Linked DNA regions of Homo sapiens: all the other regions are linked to region 3. The links are contacts of gene promoters, found by promoter capture Hi-C in blood cells and fetal thymus (Javierre and others, 2016). All regions are on one chromosome and are shown on one strand. The core of a region is centred on a gene start or on the middle of the fragment in contact, and the rest is flanking DNA. Distances in the headings are between cores, read along the strand shown. Region 1 overlaps KAT8 (lysine acetyltransferase 8). Region 2 holds the start of PRSS53 (serine protease 53). Region 3 holds the start of PYCARD (PYD and CARD domain containing). Region 4 overlaps ITGAM (integrin subunit alpha M).

Region 1 (2,700 bases), core at 34-2,533, 77 kb before region 3:
GCCGGGCTTGCTGGTGGGCGCCTGTAATCCCAGCTGCTTGGGACACTGAGGTGGGAAGATCGCTTGAACTCAGGAGGTGGAGGTTGTAGTGAGCCAAGATTGCACCATTGCTCCAGCCTGGGCAACAAGAGCAAAATTTCATCTCAAAAAACAAAATAAATTAGCTGGGAATGGTAGCAGGCACATGTAGTCTCAGCCACTTGGGAGGCTGACGTAGGAGAATCACTTAAGCCCAGAAGGCAGAGGTTGTGGTGAGCTGAGATCTCCCCACTGCACTCCAGCCTGGGCGACAGAGTGAGAGTCTATCTCAGAAGAAAAAAAAAAAAACATGTCTGTGCCGTGCTTGCCACTTGGAATAAATGGCAGCTCACTAGTCCCCGAGGGTAAGGGACCTCACCTTGCCCTGCCTGTTTACTACTCTGTAAAATTGAAATAACGCAGCTGGGTGCAGTGGCTCACGCCTGTAATCTCAGCACTTTGGGAGTGCGAGGCTGGTTGATCACCTGAGGTCAGGAGTTTGAGAACAGCCTGGCCAACATGGCGAAACTCCATTGCTACTAAACATACAAAAATTACCTGGATGTGGCGGCATGTGCCTGTAGTCCCAGCTACTTGGGAGGCTGAGGCAGGAGAATTGCTTGAACCTGGGAGGCGGAGGTTGCAGTGAGCCGAGATGGTGCCACTGTACTCCAGCCTGAGCAACAGAGTGAGACTCCGTCTCAAAAAAAAAAAAAAAAAAAAAAGAAATAACACTCTATGTAAGGGTTACTGAAAGGATTAAATGAGGCCATATAAACATATAGGCACAGTGCTTTGTGGAGGGGGTTCTGGGTAAAGCACTGGCTCCTTCCTCCCTTCTCAGCTACAGGGCAGGGCCTTGTCTGCCCTGGTGTAGGTCATGGACCGTCTTGGGTCCCCCTTCCATTGTCAGGCTGTACTGGGTTCCTCCCACAGGGTCTGGCCTAGGAGCAGGATGTGTTGTGAGTGTGGTGTGACTCTTAGTCTCTGCTTTCTAAGGACTTGAAAAATAGAGGAACCCAGGTGGGCATACTTGGACAGTGTTGCCCTGTTGACCACTTCTCGCTGAACTTGGGAAGGAGGGAATGTTTTCTGGATGGGAAGAATCCAGTCAGGCCTCCTGGAGGGGGTGGTAAGAATCTCAAGCCTTGAAGGATGGGAAAGAGCACAATAACAACAGTGACAAAGGATAGATCACAAAGCATCATGGACTCACCTGACTCATGCTCCGTGCCAGGCTGAGGAAGTGTTTTCTGCTGGCAGTGAGAGAAGGAAGGGCATTCTCCAGGTAGAAGGAGCTGTTTGTGCAGAAGCATGAAGGCCGCTAAAAGGGGGCTGCTGATAGCAATGAGGAGGCTGGGGCTGGAGGCAGGGAGTCTGAGGCGGCCTAGTAAATTGTCCAGACCTGAGATGGGGCCATGACTACCTGGAGCAGGACAGAGAGGAGAATTCCAGAGAGGGCCCAATTCCAGAGATGTCAGAAGTAGACTCGACATCCACTGTATTAGGACTTGGCCAGGCCGAGGGAGAGAGAGTAGTCTGAGGCAAGCCTAGTTATGGGTCTTGGACACTGGGACCAAGGGTGATGTTCCCAGTAAAATGAGCAACCCAGGAGGAGGCGCAGGTTTGCAGGGAGGAGTGATGAGGTCCTTTCTGCACATCTTGAGTCCGCTGTCCCTGTGGGAGGGACCTCTGGGGCAGTCGCATGGGCAGGCAGGGTCTGGTCCTCAGGAAAGGGGTCCAGGAACATCGGGGAGGTAGTAACAGTTCTTACGCTGGGCCTGGAAGGCAAATCTGTTATTTCATTTGAGTCTCACAACTTTGGCAGAGCTGGATTGCCCCCCATCGTGCAGCTGAAGCCCCATCCTGATCCTAACCCTGTTCATCTGGCAAAAGGTCCAAACTTGGACATCAGGGATGTCTGGGATATCGGGGGTGGGGCGGGTGGGTGTGAGAGGAGTCTGGACCAGCCAGCTTCAGAACCAAGTCAGATAGGTTAGCTATTGGTGTGGTTATTATTGCCATCCAGGAATGAGGTCTGGTAGACGGCAGGGAAGCCTTGTGGGTCCTGACGGGAGGGACAGCCTGGTCACCACTTCTGTTCACCTCTGCCCACTTTTCTTTCCTGGCCCAGACTTATGCAGAGATGGACCCCACCACAGCAGCCTTGGAGAAGGAGCATGAGGCGGTAAGTGGGGCTGGGAAGCTGCCTGCAGGTCCCCCGTCTCCCCTTGCCGAGGAGCCCCTGCTGAGCCGTGCACTGTGCCTCACTCCCACCCTGCCTGCAGATCACCAAGGTGAAGTATGTGGACAAGATCCACATCGGGAACTACGAAATTGATGCCTGGTATTTCTCACCATTCCCCGAAGACTATGGGAAACAGCCCAAGCTCTGGCTCTGCGAGTACTGCCTCAAGTACATGAAATATGAGAAGAGCTACCGCTTCCACTTGGTGAGGCTGGGCCGGCCGGGCCGAGCTGGGCAGGGGCCCGGTGAGAGGCAGAGGCAGGCATGGAGACTGAGGGCGGCTGCGCCGGCAGCTCCAGGGAGGAGACAGGCCCAAAGGAGCGAGTACAGGGAAGAGCTGCTGGGGGTCAGGAGGCCTGGATTCCAGGCCTGGCTTTGCTGTTGCTGGCAGGGTGACCTTGCCAACTTCAGACCTCAGCTCCTCTTCTCTGGAA
Region 2 (2,700 bases), core at 91-2,590, 110 kb before region 3:
GCTCCTTGCCTCCTCACACTGGCCTGCCAGGGCCACTCGCCAGGGACTGTGTTGCCCTCCTGAGGCTTGGGGGGGCCGGGGCCACGCTGTCCACAGGCTGTGGAAAGGAGTTAGTCACACTGACAGCAGATACCTGTCCTGACCTCACCCCAGTCCCAACCCAGACCCAAGTAAGACCTAGGCCCCGTGTCCCCAGACCTTACCACGCTGAGCGGCTTGAAGACCTGGGAAGAGAGAGACACAGGTAAGATGCAGGGACTCCAGGCCTGCCTAGCTTTGGGGAGGAGAGGGGATGGGCTGGGGGGCGGGCCCAGGGTCCTTGCCTGTGACTCTGATTACCTTACCAGCCCCTCCCAGAATGAAAATATTTATATGAGGCCGAGACAGCTTTTATTGGAACCTATTCAGTGTGCACACTCAGTAATTAATTCTCCTTCAGCTGTGCTCAGCACTCTGGGGCTTGGGGTTCAGCTTGGGAGTAGGCCAGCCCTCCTCCAGGCTTCAGAACCCCCAACTCCTGCCCCCGCCACTGAGTCAGCCAGGCGGCCTGTGTGTGTAGAGAGCATTAGCTTAATTGTCCTCTTAGCAGCAGAGGCCTAAGAGGAAGGATTAGAGGCCTGCATCATTTCCAAGTGGGGAGGGCCCCAAGAAATGGAGACTTACCTCACCCTGGTCTAGAGACTCAGTCTTCCCCACCTTCCCAGAAACTGTCTGAGAGCCCGCCAGAGAGAGGGCCCCTGCCCACCGCCCCTCACAGGCACACAGGCACCCCATGAGACAGCTGAGCCAGGCTGCCCAGAGGATGGATGAAAAGAAAGGGAAACTGAGGCCAGAGGAGCCCAGAGTTTGCCTGACGTCATTGTGGAAGTCGAGGGGGAGGCAGGCACAGGACACACGCAGGCAGCACCTCACACACACACAAGACCACAGGCCCCGCCAACGCAAACTGCAGCTGGCCCGAGAAAATCTCATCCATGTTGACACAGGTGGCCACATATACCACCCCACAGAGTCCTACGGAGTTACATCCCCACTGGTGGACTGTCGCCCACAGGCGGTCCCCCCACCAAGAAGCAGGGACTGCTGGGGCAGAGATGGCCCCTGAGCCCCCACCAGGCCACACCCATACCCCAGCACATGGCGGCTTACCCTCCATGAGGACTGTGGCACCCGCGATGAGCAGCACTGGGCCCCAGCACCACTTCATGCTGCCCCGGGCCACTCTGCCACCTGTGCTCCACTCTGAGAGAGGCCACCTGGGTCTCCCTGGCTCCACCTCTGCTCCACCTCCAGTTGGCTAGGATTCAGCTGTCTGCTTGCCCTAGCCAGCAGTTCCTAGCTCTGGGGCTGTGGCTGTGTGACCCTAGGCTTGTCACCACCCCTCTCTGGGCCTTAGCCGTGGAGCCAAATTGTCTGGGTTTAAATCTGTTTCCTTACTACTTGAGTGGCCTGGGAGAGCTAACCTGCCTGTGCCTTGTCTGAGAAACAGTTGTTGAATGGAAAACGTCTCAATGACAGCCTGGCACAGGGCAAGCTCACTCCCAGCATGAAAGTGCCATCCTGGAACCATGGAGGGCACGTGGGCAGCTCCTCCCAGTCCCCACTTTTCATTTCCACTCCCCCACTTCTCTTCCAGCCAGGGCTAGGTGGGTTTCACATGCCTTCTCCCAGGTCTGCTCAGAGACAGTGTGTGCCAGGCTGAGTGGTGAGGAGCCAGCACCCACTGCTGCTTGCTCGCTGTGAGCCTTTGGCAAATCCCAGTATCTCCCTGGGCCTGCTGGCTTCCTGGGAAACAGGGTGACAGCGGTGCCCACCTTCCTCATAGGCGCAGAGGACTCGGTCAGGCGGGAAGAACACTTTGGCGCGTGCCTCCTCTTCCTCTTCCCACTCCTAACTCAGGCTGGCCCAGACCATTCAAGAACCCTGACCCCAAGACAGAGGCAGCTGTGGGTAAGGTTTAGCATATATTATAGATGCTGGCCGGGCATGGTGGCTCACGCCTGTAATCCCAGCACTTTGGGAGGCCAAAGCAGGCAGATCACCTGAGGTCGGGAGTGCGAGACCAGCCTGACCAACATAGAGAAACACTGTCTCTACTAAAAATACAAAATTAGCCAGGCCTGGTGGCGCATGCCTGTAATCCCAGCTACTCGGGAGGCTGAGGCAGGAGAATCACTTGAACCTGGGAGGTGGAGGTTGTGGTGAGCCGAAATTGTGCCATTGCACTCCAGCCTGGACAACAAGAGCGAAAGTCCGTCTCAAAAACAAACCAACAAAAAAAAAAGCATATAGATGCTGGAGCCAGATGGACCAGGTGGATTCAAATCCTGAGAGCCTCCTGCAGTAGCTGTGTGATCTCAGGCATACTAATTAGCCACTCTGTCCCTATCATCAAGATAGGGATAATAATAGTACCCACCTCATAAATCACTGTAAAGATTAAACGAGTTTAACACGTTAACACAAGTTTTTTTTTGTTTTTTGTTTTTTTTTGGAGACGGTCTTGCTCTGTTGCTCAGGCTGGAGTGCAGTGATCATGGCTCACTGCAGCCTCAACCTTCTGGGCTCAAGCAGTCTTCCCGCCAGCTTCCCGATTAGTTGGGACTATAGGTACATACACCACCATGCCTGGCTAATTTTTTTTTTTTTTTTTTTTTGTAGAGACAGGGGTCTCACTATTTTGCCCAGGCTGGTCTGGAA
Region 3 (2,700 bases), core at 79-2,578:
AGCATAGCTGAGCTCTGCACATGCCAGCAGGCTAGAAGCAGGAAAACACACAAGTTCAAGCTGGCTTTTCGTATATTGTGTATAAAAAGATCAGATTCAGGATGATTTGGTGGGATTGCCAGGGGCTGACCGGAGTGTTGCTGGGAAGGAGCCTCAGCTCCGCTCCAGGTCCTCCACCAGGTAGGACTGGGACTCCCTTAGGGCCTGGAGGAGCAAGTCCTTGCAGGTCCAGTTCCAGGCTGGTGTGAAACTGAAGAGCTTCCGCATCTTGCTTGGGTTGGTGGGCTCGGCCCGCACTGCCTGGTACTGCTCATCCGTCAGGACCTTCCCGTACAGAGCATCCAGCAGCCACTCAACGTTTGTGACCCTCGCGATAAGCGCAGCCCGGTGCTGGTCTATAAAGTGCAGGCCTGGGGGTGGGAGGAGAACATGAGCCAGCAGCCAGGGTGTGGGGCCTGTCCCTGCTGAACTTGAGTTCTTCAGGAATTCCTCTGCAAGCCTAGGGGCAGGGCTCCAGGGGGCGGCCACCAGGACCCCACATGCAGTGGGATGAGGGTAATATTGTCTCCCTTCCCCCGCAGGGTGTGGGTTGGTGGGTGGGGTGCGCAGGGTTGCCAAGCCGTGCCTGCCCTGCCCTGCCCTGCCCTGGTTGCGGGAGCACAGATGCAGGCTGTGCAGGAGTGCGGTGGGGCCGGGCTGGGTGTGGAGGCCTCACCTGGCTTGGCTGCCGACTGAGGAGGGGCCTGGATCCCAGCTGGCGCGGCTCCAGAGCCTGGAAGGATATGGGCCAAGTGATCCCCTTCCCTTCCCTTCCCGCCGTGGGGCCGGGGTCCCGTTGGTCGGTAGGCCAAGCGTGGGGAGCCTCCTTTCCGGTAGAGCAGCTTTGTTTAGGGGTAGGAGGAACAGAAAGCGGAAGAGCCCGCGGGGTAAGCGCTGGTGTGGGTGGAGGGGAAAGACGGGGTGGAGGGGAACGGGGGCGGCTCACCCTGGTGCGTGGCCGCCTGCAGCTGCCCGGCCATCTCCTGCAGGCCCATGTCGCGCAGCACGTTAGCGGTGAGCTCGGCGCCGTAGGTCTCCAGGTAGAAGCTGACCAGCTTGTCGGTGAGGTCCAAGGCGTCCATGGACAGCAGCGCGCCCCGCGGGATGCGCCCGTAGCCCTCGCGCAGCGGCACCGACAGCAGCTTCAGCTTGAACTTCTTGAGCTCCTCGGCGGTCAGGTTCTCCAGCGCATCCAGGATGGCGTCGCGCGCGCGCCCCATGGCTCCAGGATCCCCGGCCGCTGCCGCCGCTCACCCCGCTGCAGCCGCCGACCAGGAGGAAGTCGGCTCCGGGGCGGAACCTGGACTCCCCGCCTTCCTCCCACTCTGGTCTCCCGACTCCCCGCCCCGGTCCGTTGCCCTCCAGCAAAAGGCGCTTCCTTACTACACCCTTGGTCCCCTCCCACCCAGGCCTCTGGATTGGGGCCCCAGGCCGTCGGGGGACGCCAGGATCGCGCCCTCCAGCTGGCCTGCGAGGTGGGACCCGGGAGGGGGCCGCAGAGGGGCTCATGGGTGGCGCCTGCTTGTCTCTGGGCTTGCACCAGCGGGTACAGACCGGAAACCTGGGCTGGCTCTCACTGGGTTTATTGGAGCACCTAGGCTTAGAACCTCGGATTTCTAGAACCCCGAAACCTCCGCGGTTCCCCGAACCTTAGGATCCTCTCCCACATGTCGTAGAATCTTGGAATCATGACAGCTAGAAGCGTGAAGCTCCCTCAATTCCACATACTGGGGAAAAATGAGTTGTACAAAAGGGCAGAGAGTGCAAATCTCTCTGAGCTTCAGTTTCATTTTCTACGACATGGGGATAACCCTCCGGTGCTTATAAATATTCCAGCATAACATGGCCAACCCGATGGCTCCCGAAACCTTGCCAGATGCTTCCTAGGGGAGCCAGAATTTGATCCCAACACTGATTAAAAAAAAGAAAAAAGAAAGAGAGACAGCCTCCAGGAGATTAAAGACCATGAACTTGAAGCCATACAGTTCTTTGTTTGAATCCTGACTCTACTTCCCAAGGGGGATATTTGGAATCCTTTATTTTTCCCTCTCATCTGGGTTGTAACAATCACTGTTCCTTGTAGTCATACGACCCTGACATATTATACGTTTATATGCTTATTGGACATTCATCCCTCTCTAAAATGTGAGGCCTATGAGCATCGGAGACCTTAACTGTCTTATTCTTTGCTGAATTCCTAGCGTCAAGAATGTACCTGGAAATAGCTGTGTGTGGTGGAGGGCGCCTGTAATCCTAGCTACTAGGGCGGCTGAGGCATGAGAATCGCTTGAACCTCGGAGGCAGAGGCTACAGTGAGCCAAGATTGCACCACTGCACTCCAGCCTGGGTGACAGAGCTAGATTCCATCTGAAAAAAAAAAATGTATCTGGAACACATTAGGTGCTGAGTAAAGATTTGCTGAGTGAAGGAATGAATGAGGCTGTGATGCCTGCAGCATGTTGTATTCAAAAGCTTCCAGCATGGCTGGGTGCAGTGGCTCATCACGCATGTCATCTCAGTGCTTTGGGAGGCTGAGGCCGGAGGGTCACTTGAGCCCAGGAGGTTGAGGGTGCAGTGAGCTATGATTGTGCCACTGCACTCTGTGCCACTCGGCAACAGACACCTTGTCTCAAAAACAAACAAGACAACCAGGATGGGCCG
Region 4 (2,700 bases), core at 86-2,585, 110 kb after region 3:
GCACGATCTCAGCTCACTGCAACCTCCACCTCCCGGGTCCCAGCGATTCTCCTGCCTCAGCCTCCCAAGTAGCTGGGATTACAGGCCTCCGCCACCATGCCTGGCTACTTTTTTGTATATTTAATAGAGACGGGGTTTCACCATGTTGGCCAGGCTGGTCTTGAACTCCTGATCTAAGGTAATCCACCCGCCTCAGTCTCCTAAAGTGCTGGGATTACAGGCGTGAGCCACTGCACCCGGCCCAGCACTTTTGATTTTTGTATTTGGTTTGAGATAAAGGCTCAGTTTCATTCTTTTGCCTGTGGATATCCAGTGTTCTTAACACCATTTGTTAAAAAGACTGTCCTTTCCCCATTGTATGCCCTTGGCACCTTTGTTGAAAATTAGTTGATTGTTGGCCGGGCGCGGTGGCTCATGCCTGTAATCTCAGCACTTTGGAAGGCTGAGGCGGGTGGATCATGAGGTCAGGAAATCGAGACCGTCATGGCTAACAAGGTGAAACCCCGTCTCTACTAAAAATACAAAAAATTAGCCGGGCGCGGTGGCGGGCGCCTGTAGTCCCAGCTACTCGGGAGGCTGAGGCAGGAGAATGGCGTGAACCCGGGAAGCAGAGCTTGCAGTGAGTCGAGATTGCGCCACTGCAGTCCGCAGTCCGGCCTGGGCGACAGAGCGAGACTCCGTCTCAAAAAAAAAAAAAAAAAAAAAAAAAAAAAAAAAAAAAATTAGCCAGGCATGGTGGTGGGCACCTGTAGTTCCAGCTACTCGGGAGGCTGAGGCAGGAGAATGGGGGAACCTGGGAGGAAGAGGTTGCAGTGAGCCTACATCATGCCACTGCACTCCAGCCTGGGTAACAGAGCAAGACTCCGTCTGGAAAAAAAAAAAAAAGAAAAGAAAATTAGTTGATTGTAAATGCATGGGTTCATTTCTGAGCTCTGTATTCTGTTCCATTGGTCAATGTCTCTGTTTTTATGTCAGTGTCATGCTGTTTTGCTGAGTATACCTTTGTGGTGTATTTTGATGTCAGGTAGTGTGATACCTCTACCTTTGTTGTTTATGCTCAAGATTGTCTTGGATATTTGAGGTCTTTTGTGACTTCATATTAATTTTAGTATTGTTTTTTCTATTTCTGTAAGAAATGCCATTGGGATTTTGGTAGGAATTACATTGACTCTATCGATCACTTTGAATAGTATGGACCTTTAAAAATATTCTTTCAATCCATAATATGGGATATCTTTCCATTGATTTTTGTCTTAACTTTCTTTCGTCAATGTTTTATAGTTTTAGTGTGCATATTTTTCACCTTCTTGGTTAAATTAACTTGTAAGCATTTTATTTTTTGATGCCATTGTAAATAGGATTAATTTCTTTTTCAGATAGTTTGTTGTTAGTGTATAGAAACAAATAATTTTTGTATGTTCATTTTGTATTCCATGACTTTACTAAATTTGTTTATTAAATTTGATAACTTTTTCGTAGAGTATTTATAACAAGTTTCTTATATATAAGATCATGTCAATTGCAAACAGGGACAATTTTTTTTTCTTTATTTCTAACTTGAATGCATTTCTTATCTTTTTCTTGCCCAATTGCTCTGGCTAGGACTTTCAGTACTGTGTTGAAATAGAAGTGGTGAGTGTGGGCATCCTTGCCTTGTTCCTAATTTTAGTGGTAAAATCAAATTTTCACCACTGGGTATGATGTTAACTAGACACTTTTTTTAATGTTCTTTATCATGTTGATGTAATTTCCCTGTATTTCTAGTTTGTTGAGGGTTTTTAATCATGAGTGGCTATTCCTGTGGCCTGAATGTTTGTGTCCTCCCCAGATTCATATGTTGAAGCCTAATTCCTTGTGTGATGGTATTTGTAGATGGGACCTTTGGAAGGTGTTTAGGTCATGAGAGTGTGGCCATCATTAATAGGATTAGTGCCCTTAGACAAAAGCAAAATGATGGTTGCCTATGAACCAGAAAATAGGCTCTCACCAGATATTGAATCTGCTTGCACCTTGATTTTGGATGTCACAAGTCTTCAGAACTATGAGAAATAAATTTCTATTGCTTATAACCCATCCAGTCTATGTTATTTGTTATACCAAATAAGCTAAGACAGATGTTTAGTTTTATTAAATGCTTTCTTTTCTTATTGATAAGATCATGTTATTTTTATTCCTTATTCTGTTAATGTGGTGCATCACATTTATTGATTTGCATATGTTGAGCCATCCTTGCATGCCAGGAATAAAGCCCACATGGTCATGGCGTATGACCCTTTTGTGCTATTGAATTCAGTTTGCTAGTATTTTATTTAGGATTTTGGATCTATGTTCAATAGGGAAATTGGCATGTAGTGATCTTTTCTCATGGTGTGTTTGTTGGGATTTAGTGTCAGGATAGTGCTTGCCTCATACAATAAGTTTGGAAGTATTCCCTCCTCTTCAGTTTTTTGGATGAGTTTGAGAAGAATTCATATTAATTCTTATTTAAATGTTTGGTTGGTAGAATTTGCCTGAGAAGCCACCAGGTCCTGGGCTTTTCTTTGTTAGGAGGTCTTTGATTACTGATTCAATTTCCTTACTCATTATAGATCTGTTTAAACTTTCTATTGCCTTATGATTCAGGCTTGGTAGGTTGTATATTTCTAGGAATTTATCCATTCCTTCAAGGTTATCAAGTTTGTTAACATATAATTGTTCATA

What was found. The method cuts DNA at HindIII sites, captures the fragments that hold promoters and counts their contacts. A CHiCAGO score of 5 or more calls a contact.
Region 1: a fragment that was not itself captured here is called in contact with the fragment with the promoter of PYCARD in region 3 in 1 of 17 cell types (M0 macrophages); the score reaches 7.8 in M0 macrophages.
Region 2: the fragment with the promoter of PRSS53 here is called in contact with the fragment with the promoter of PYCARD in region 3 in 1 of 17 cell types (neutrophils); the score reaches 5.3 in neutrophils.
Region 4: a fragment that was not itself captured here is called in contact with the fragment with the promoter of PYCARD in region 3 in 8 of 17 cell types (M2 macrophages, M0 macrophages, M1 macrophages and 5 more); the score reaches 16.8 in M2 macrophages.

What each region holds. Positions count from the first base shown.
Region 1 is chr16:31,124,883-31,127,582 of GRCh38, forward strand. KAT8 (lysine acetyltransferase 8) reads left to right here. Exons shown (of 11, transcript NM_032188.3): 4 at 2,153-2,206; 5 at 2,307-2,471. Among named protein-coding and RNA genes, the nearest start is that of KAT8, 8.6 kb to the left of the region's middle. The HindIII fragment of the contact is 7,764 bases long and covers 1-2,700 here.
Region 2 is chr16:31,087,603-31,090,302 of GRCh38, forward strand. PRSS53 (serine protease 53) reads right to left here and starts at 1,341. Exons shown (of 11, transcript NM_001039503.3): 1 at 1,150-1,341; 2 at 204-224; 3 at 1-97. The coding sequence starts at 1,207. RefSeq lists an enhancer at 1,018-1,518. The HindIII fragment of the contact is 23,145 bases long and covers 1-2,700 here.
Region 3 is chr16:31,201,432-31,204,131 of GRCh38, forward strand. PYCARD (PYD and CARD domain containing) reads right to left here and starts at 1,329. Exons shown (of 3, transcript NM_013258.5): 1 at 986-1,329; 2 at 716-772; 3 at 55-410. The coding sequence starts at 1,259. The coding sequence ends at 154. PYCARD-AS1 (PYCARD antisense RNA 1) reads left to right here and starts at 454. Exons shown (of 2, transcript NR_102400.1): 1 at 454-555; 2 at 1,029-2,021. RefSeq lists enhancers at 160-790, 980-1,209 and a silencer at 1,320-1,679. The HindIII fragment of the contact is 5,508 bases long and covers 1-2,509 here.
Region 4 is chr16:31,315,517-31,318,216 of GRCh38, forward strand. All of the region lies in intron 14 of ITGAM (integrin subunit alpha M), which reads left to right. Among named protein-coding and RNA genes, the nearest start is that of ITGAX, 38 kb to the right of the region's middle. The HindIII fragment of the contact is 2,960 bases long and covers 1-2,700 here.